Linked DNA regions of Homo sapiens: region 1 is linked to region 2. The links are contacts of gene promoters, found by promoter capture Hi-C in human tissues and cell types (Jung and others, 2019). All regions are on one chromosome and are shown on one strand. The core of a region is centred on a gene start or on the middle of the fragment in contact, and the rest is flanking DNA. Distances in the headings are between cores, read along the strand shown.

Evidence for each region. The method cuts DNA at HindIII sites, captures the fragments that hold promoters and counts their contacts. A contact is called where the count stands out against the background at its distance.
Region 1: a fragment that was not itself captured here is called in contact with the fragment with the promoter of SPANXN1 in region 2 in 1 of the 25 tissues and cell types used here (IMR-90 fibroblasts).

What each region holds. Positions count from the first base shown.
Region 1 is chrX:143,954,347-143,957,862 of GRCh38, reverse strand. No RefSeq gene overlaps it. Among named protein-coding and RNA genes, the nearest start is that of SPANXN2, 240 kb to the right of the region's middle. The HindIII fragment of the contact is 5,954 bases long and covers 1-3,516 here.
Region 2 is chrX:145,245,525-145,248,923 of GRCh38, reverse strand. SPANXN1 (SPANX family member N1) reads right to left here and starts at 1,421. Exons shown (of 2, transcript NM_001009614.3): 1 at 1,263-1,421. The coding sequence starts at 1,337. The HindIII fragment of the contact is 8,684 bases long and covers 1-3,399 here.

The sequences.
Region 1 (3,516 bases), core at 647-3,146, 1.3 Mb after region 2:
TAATGCAGGGACAGAAAACCAAATACCCCATGCTCTCACTTATAAGTGGGAGCTAAATGATGAGAGCACATGGACATATAGAAGGGAACAACACACAGTAGGGCCAATTTGAGGGTAGAGGTTGGGAGGAGGAAACAGATCAAGAAAAATAACTAATGGGTACTAGGCTTAATAACTGGGTGATGAAATGGTCTATACAACAAACCCCCACGACACAAGTTTACCTATATAACAAACCTGCACATGTACCCTTGAATTTAAATAAAAGTTAAAGAAAAATTAACTATAAAAATTAAAAAAAAATGGTGAAGGTGACAGCAGTAGGTTAGAGTGAACATCTCCAAAGTTTTGCATCATGATCAAATGCTTTCGTTGTATGTTGCTCTTTTTATTGAAGAGCCATTCCAAATATTGTGAGATGCATTGCTGCAAGAAGCTGTTTAACTTCTCTCAATAGCATTTCAAACATAGTTAGTTTTAACTTACTAACTTGTTTTGAATTGATACTAATTACTTAATAGAATATTCATGATGAGGCATAGTTACAAATGTGTTCACCACAACATCATTCTTAAAAATTAAAAACAAAATCCTCTAAAACTCTGAATATGGGCTGAAGTTTTTCCTTGATGTATATATGAGTATATATGGAATACATTTACATAGAATGTGTGTGTTAAATATTGGGATGTTTATGCACTAGTATTATTATTATTATGTTGGAGATGGAGTTTCGCTCTTGTTGCCCAGGCTGGAGTGCAATGGTGCGATCTCAGTTCACTGCAACTTCCACCTCCTGGGTTCAAGTGATTCTCCTGCCTCAGCCTCCAAGTAGCTGGGATTAGAGGCATGTGCCATCACGCCCAGCTAATTTTGTATTTTTATTAGAGACAAGGTAGCACCATGTTGGTCAGGCTGGTCTTGAACACCAGACCTCAGGTGATCTGCCCGCCTCAGCCTTCCAAAGTGCTGGGATTACAGGCATGAGCCATCGCACCTGGCTGAATTATTATTTTAATAAATGGTTATCTTTGGTACTGAGATTTACTAAAATTTATGTTTCAGTTTTCTGTCTTCTTATCTTTTTTTTAATTTTTATTTTTTACATGGGCACATACTAATAAAAGTGGGAAAATTTTCAGGTTAGGGAAATGTAGTCTACTAGACCTTAAACTAGTCTCCAGGGTGTGACCAATACAAGCCCCAGATGTATAAACTGAAAAAAGACTTTAGGGAAATGGTAAGCAAGTTACTTTGCTAATCTGAAAAATATAGGGTTAGGATCCAGACAGATCCAGACCCTGATACTCGATTTCTTTATATAAGGCTTACACTTTGTTTAGCATAACTCAAATTGTAACGCCCGGTACTGAACTACTAGACTCATAATAATTTTAAGGCAATTATATATTTCATATTTTTTAAAATCAATCTCAATGAATCTATCTACCTATCTATATATCTGTAAGGTAAAACACAGCATAGTATTGGGCATATTATTATGTATGTATGCATATGTATATAGAAATATATATTTAAATTTCTTTCTAGAAACAGTTCAATAAATGGAAGGCTTTTAAATGCATGAGTTTCTAGCAAAATTATGTAAACTTATAAGTTGTTGCATCTTTTAATCACAGAAGAATTTGATTCCTTAAGTACAACTCAAGAATATATGACTTTGGTGAATTAAAATGGAAAAACTACTCGGGTAAATCATTCCCGTCGTAAGTCTAAGAAATACTTTCATAAATCAATCCAAAGCTTCAGATCATGCAGAAAGGTACTTGTCTATTATTTTCATTATTCCGGAATCTGACACAGCCAGGCCCCAGGCCCCTCCCAAATCTCATGTTCCTTACACATTTCAAAACCAATTATGCCATCTCAACAGTCCCTCAAAGTCTTAATTAATTCCAGCATTAACCCAAAAGTATAAATCCAAAGTCTCATCTGGGATAAGGAAAGTCCCTTCCACCTATGAGCCTGTAAAATCAAAAGCAAGTTAGTTATTTTCTGGATACGATGGGGGTAGAGGCATTGGGTAGATACACCCACTCCAAATGGAAGAAATTGGTCCAAAAAATGGACACCAAGCAAGTCCAAAATCCAGTGGGGCAGTCAAACCTTAAAGCTTCAAAGTGATCTTTTTTGACTCCATGTCCCACATCAAGGTTCTGCGGATGCAAAAGGTGGGCTCCCATGCCCTTGGGAAGCTCCAACCCTGTGGCTTTGCAGGGTACAGCCCCCCTCCCAGCTGCTTTCATAGGCTGGCATTGAGTGTCTTCAGCTTTTCCAGGTGCATGGTAAAAGCTGTCGGTGGATCTACTGATACCATTCTGGGGTCTGGAGAATGGTGGCCCTCTTCTCACAGCTCCACTAGGCAGTGCCCCAGTGGGGACTCTGTGTGGGGGCTCCAACCCAACATTTCTCTTCTGCATTGCCCTAGCAGAGGTTCTCCATGAGGGCTTCACCCCTGCAGCAAACTTCTGCCTAGATATTCTGGCATTTCCATACATCCCCTGAAATCTAGGCAGAAGTTACAAAACCTCAGTTCTTGACTGCTGTGTACTCACAGGCCCAACACCACATGTAAGCCACCAAGGCTTGGGGCTTGCACCCACTGAAGCAATAGCCTGTGCTGTACGTTGGTCCCTTTTAGCCATGGCTGGGATGCAGGGCACCAAATCTCTAAATTGCACAAAGCAGAAAGGCCCTAGGCCCAGCCCAGGAAACAATTTATTCCTCCTAGGCCTCTGGGCCTGTTATGGAAGGGGCTGCCGTGAAGACCTCTGACATGCCCTGGAGACATTTTCTCCATTGTCTTGGCGATTAACATTTGGCTAGTTACTTACGCAAATTTCTGCAGCTGGTTTGAATTTCTCCTCAGAAAATGGGTTTTTCTTTTATATCACATCATCAGACTGCAAGTTTTCTAAACTTTTATGCCCTGCTTCCCTTTTAAACATAAGTTCCCATTCCAAGTCATCTCTTTGTGAATATATAAAACTGAATGCTTTTAAGAGCACCCAAGTCACATCTTGAATGCTTTCCTGCTTAGAAATTTATTCTGCCATATACCCTAAATCATCTCTCTCAAGTTCAAAGTTCCACAGTTCTCTAGGGTGGGGACAAAAAGCTTCCAGTCTCTTTACTAAAGGATAGCAAGAGTCACCTTTATTCCAGTTCCCAACAAGTTCTTCATCTCTAACTAAACCAACCTTAGCCTGGACTTCATTGTCCATATAAATATCAGTATCTTCATCAAACCCATTCAACAAGTCTCTAGGAAGTTTCAAACTTTTCCACATTTTTCTGTCTTCTTCTTAGCCCTCCAAACTGTTCCAAACTCTGTCTGTTACCCAGTTCCAAAGTTGCTTCCATATTTTTGGGTATCTTTTCAGCAGCACCTCACTACTTCAGTACCAATTTATTGTATTAATCCATTATGACACTGCTGAAAAAGACATACCTGAGACTGGGTAATTTATAAAGAAAAGAGGTTTAATTGACTCA
Region 2 (3,399 bases), core at 172-2,671:
CTCTTCATGTATCCAACTCAAGGGCGCTCCCTGGAAAACATGCACAAACAATTCCCTCAACTGCAACCTGTATCCTTCTGCCCTGTAAGGACCACAGTGGCTATTAGTTACAAAAACCCATTTCCCCCTCTCTCTCCAAAACCAAGCAGCCTTCACCTCCTCCACCACCAACATTTCCTATCAGGCCTTCAGTGGGGCTACCCTTGCTGGCAGCTATTGAACTTGGAGGAATATAAAAGTTAAAACAAAGTGTTTGTGGAGAATTCAACCCCCACCTTCTCATGGCTTGCCACCATAACCTACAACTTTCGTTAACCGCCATAATCTACAACTTTTTTGTTAATCTAAACATTAACATTTTGCCTAACAAGCAGACCATCCAGGTTCCTTTAGTAGCTTCTGTCTCATCTTCCTCCACACACACTAAGCAGGCTGTACATCTCATTCTAGTGTTAGCAGAACTAAGCATCTCTGATGCACTCAGCACTGGGATAGCAGGTGGTCCCTTTCTTAGGGCCGTTAATCTTCCTCCTCCTGATAGTACATTTGGCCGATGTATACTCACCTTCATATCCTGCTTTATCTCCCGAAGGCTAAACTCCCCTGTCCAGGCAGCCACCCAGCAACACATTGATACCATCCTTCTCCTCTGCCAAGTCCGGTACCAGTGCCTCCAGGAAAACAACTCTGAAGTCCAACACCCACTGCTTCAAAACCCAAACCCTGATTACAGCTCCCCTATTCGGCAGGAAGCAGCCAGATAATCAACAATGCCCCTCTTCCTTTTATACTAAAGTAGAAGGCAAGAATGTGAGTCCAAACCACCATTTAGTAAGCACCCTGCTATTTTTCAGACCTTGATCAAAGTGAAACATTCCACGGGGGTTCAGGCTGAGAAAAATCTTGCCTAATCATCGTAACACAAGACGGACAAAGGTCCAACTAAAGAAACTTTCCTATGGTATCTTGCTGGGCAAAGTTCCAAGAAACACCACAATGACATCCCACTGGAAAAAGGACCAAACAGCCTGATCATAAAAACATCTTATCAATATCCTGCCGGGCAGCAAGCCATACTGCCCAGGCCCCTCCCACCCCTACCTACAAGCACCCCAGGCTGTAAGCGGCGGTGGGCTCTGGCATTAAGCGGGTCTCCCACTTCCACAGGTGTCTGCAATATTCCTGTGTTGCTGTTTGAGCCGTCCCTTCTCTGTGTGTCTTTCTTTCACCCTCACCTTCCCTTCAAAACCTAACAATCTTACCTCATCATTTTCATTGTTGGATTCACAGGGGCTCTTCCTCTTCTCCCCATTGATGCTTGAAGTGGGCTGTTCCATGATTCTGGTTGGTTGTAGAATGTCTATAGTAGGCTCTTGTAGACTCCAGACTTGCACAGCTGTATTGAAGCTTCCCAGGAGGATGTCCCAGAGCTCTTGCCCTCCCTATATATACCCTCCTGGTGACAAGGCAAAGCCACACCCTTGAGCTTTGTTTGATCATACAGGCAGTGTCCCAGCCAATGGCAGTCCTAGGGTGGCTTTGACATCACGAAGCACCACTGCTGACCAATCCCTGGGCTTGTGGGGGAGGGGTGACAGGGATGTAGAGGAAACCAAATGCTGTTGTTGTTTCAGCATCCCCTGAAGATGCATCCCAAACCGATCTGCCGCCGCTCCTCATTTCTCCATGTTTAATGTTCATGGTTCACATGGAAGTCAGAGGATGATTCCTTCAAGCCCTTCCCCACAGCCATTCCTATGAAGTGATTCATTCTTTTGTCTTCCAGCCCTCACCATGACTTAGTATTTTAGATGTCTCACCTCAAATCCCCCAAGCTAGTGTGGCTACATGTAATTATTGGTGGAGATGTGAATTATCCCATTTCCCTCCTACAGTTCCTTCACATGCACCTCGAAGACCATTTACTTTTGGGCTACTGCCAGGCAAATTTCAACCCATGTTCTTTTACCCAATGTCCATGTAGTTCTTTTAAGTTTCCTATCTCCAATCTGAAATAATGGCCTTCAGTCTGTCAAAACTTTAGTGAATAAACATTCTTTACCATGTATCCTAGTCTTGTTTCAAATCAGGGGTGTGTGTTCATAGTAAATGTAGTCTCCCAACATGAATTCTGCCAGTATGTGGGTGGGGGAAGGAGTGGATATTCAAGTGCTGGAAGTTGTTCTGAGTATTTACCTGCAGGATACTATAATCTAAGACTAACATGAGGGTACAAGCTTCAAGCCTTGGTGGCTTCAAGCTTCGGTGGCTTCCACATGGTGTTAAGCCTGGAGATGCACTGAGGGTAAGAGTTGAGGCTTGGGCTTGGGAGGCTCTGCCTAGATTTCAGAAGATGTATGGAAATGCCTGGATGTTCAGGCAGAAGTATGCTGCAGGGTTGGATCCCTCATGAAGAACCTCTACTAGGGCAATGTGAAGGGGAAATCTGGGGTTGGAGCCCTGACACAGAATCTCCACTGGTCACTGGAGCTGGAGAGAGATGCTCACAGAATGGGGAGAGACGAAGGTTGCTTAGAATTTCAAGAAAAATAAACAATTGAGGATGTATACAATAACACTGTTTGGCCCTGATTCCTGACAAGGTGTTTGGTAGCAGGAGAAGTCAGAGATCACTCCAGGTTTTAGGACCAGGTCACTTATTGATGATGAGAATATTTTTTAAAATACAGAATCTAGACAACAATTTGGAAGGAAAGGTGAAGGGTGTCATTTTGGCATCTCAGGGTTGAGCTGAAGCTGGGCTGTGCAAATGTAAATGCTGTAGGCAAGAACTGCCACTCAGCTGGAGTTTCATACCGCGGGGGTCCTGGGAGGGATGATATTTTATGTAATGGCATTTTTAAAATTTTTCAAAAGTAGTAAAAGGAGAATATCACTGGGCCAGGAACTGAACTTTGCACAGTGCTTAGCATGAGTAGTGGGAGAGAAAATGATGCTCAGGAGAGGCGATGGAGAACCAGGAACATGAAGTGTCAGGGCAAAGGTCAGAGCAGGAAGGAGTCCTGCGAGCATACCATCCTCTCTTACTCACCCACCCCTGACATTACACAAGTTATCTCCTCTGCCTGGGATACCCTTCTCCCACACTGCATCCCAATCACCAGGATAACGTCTGTTCCTCCATACATCTGCAGCGTAGATGTCATTATTTCCAGACAATCTTCCCTGGACCTCCTCCCTACCACTTACTCACAAATTAATAATAATAGCCATGCCCATGCTGTTCATCTATTGTGTTTGTACAAGTGCACACAAGACTATAAATTGGCTTTGAGATAAGGATGTATATCAGGTCTCTCTCCGTGGCTTGGAAATGTCTGTCTTCTCACCTTGTGTCTTCACATCATCTTCCTTCTATGCATTTCTCTCTGGCCAAAT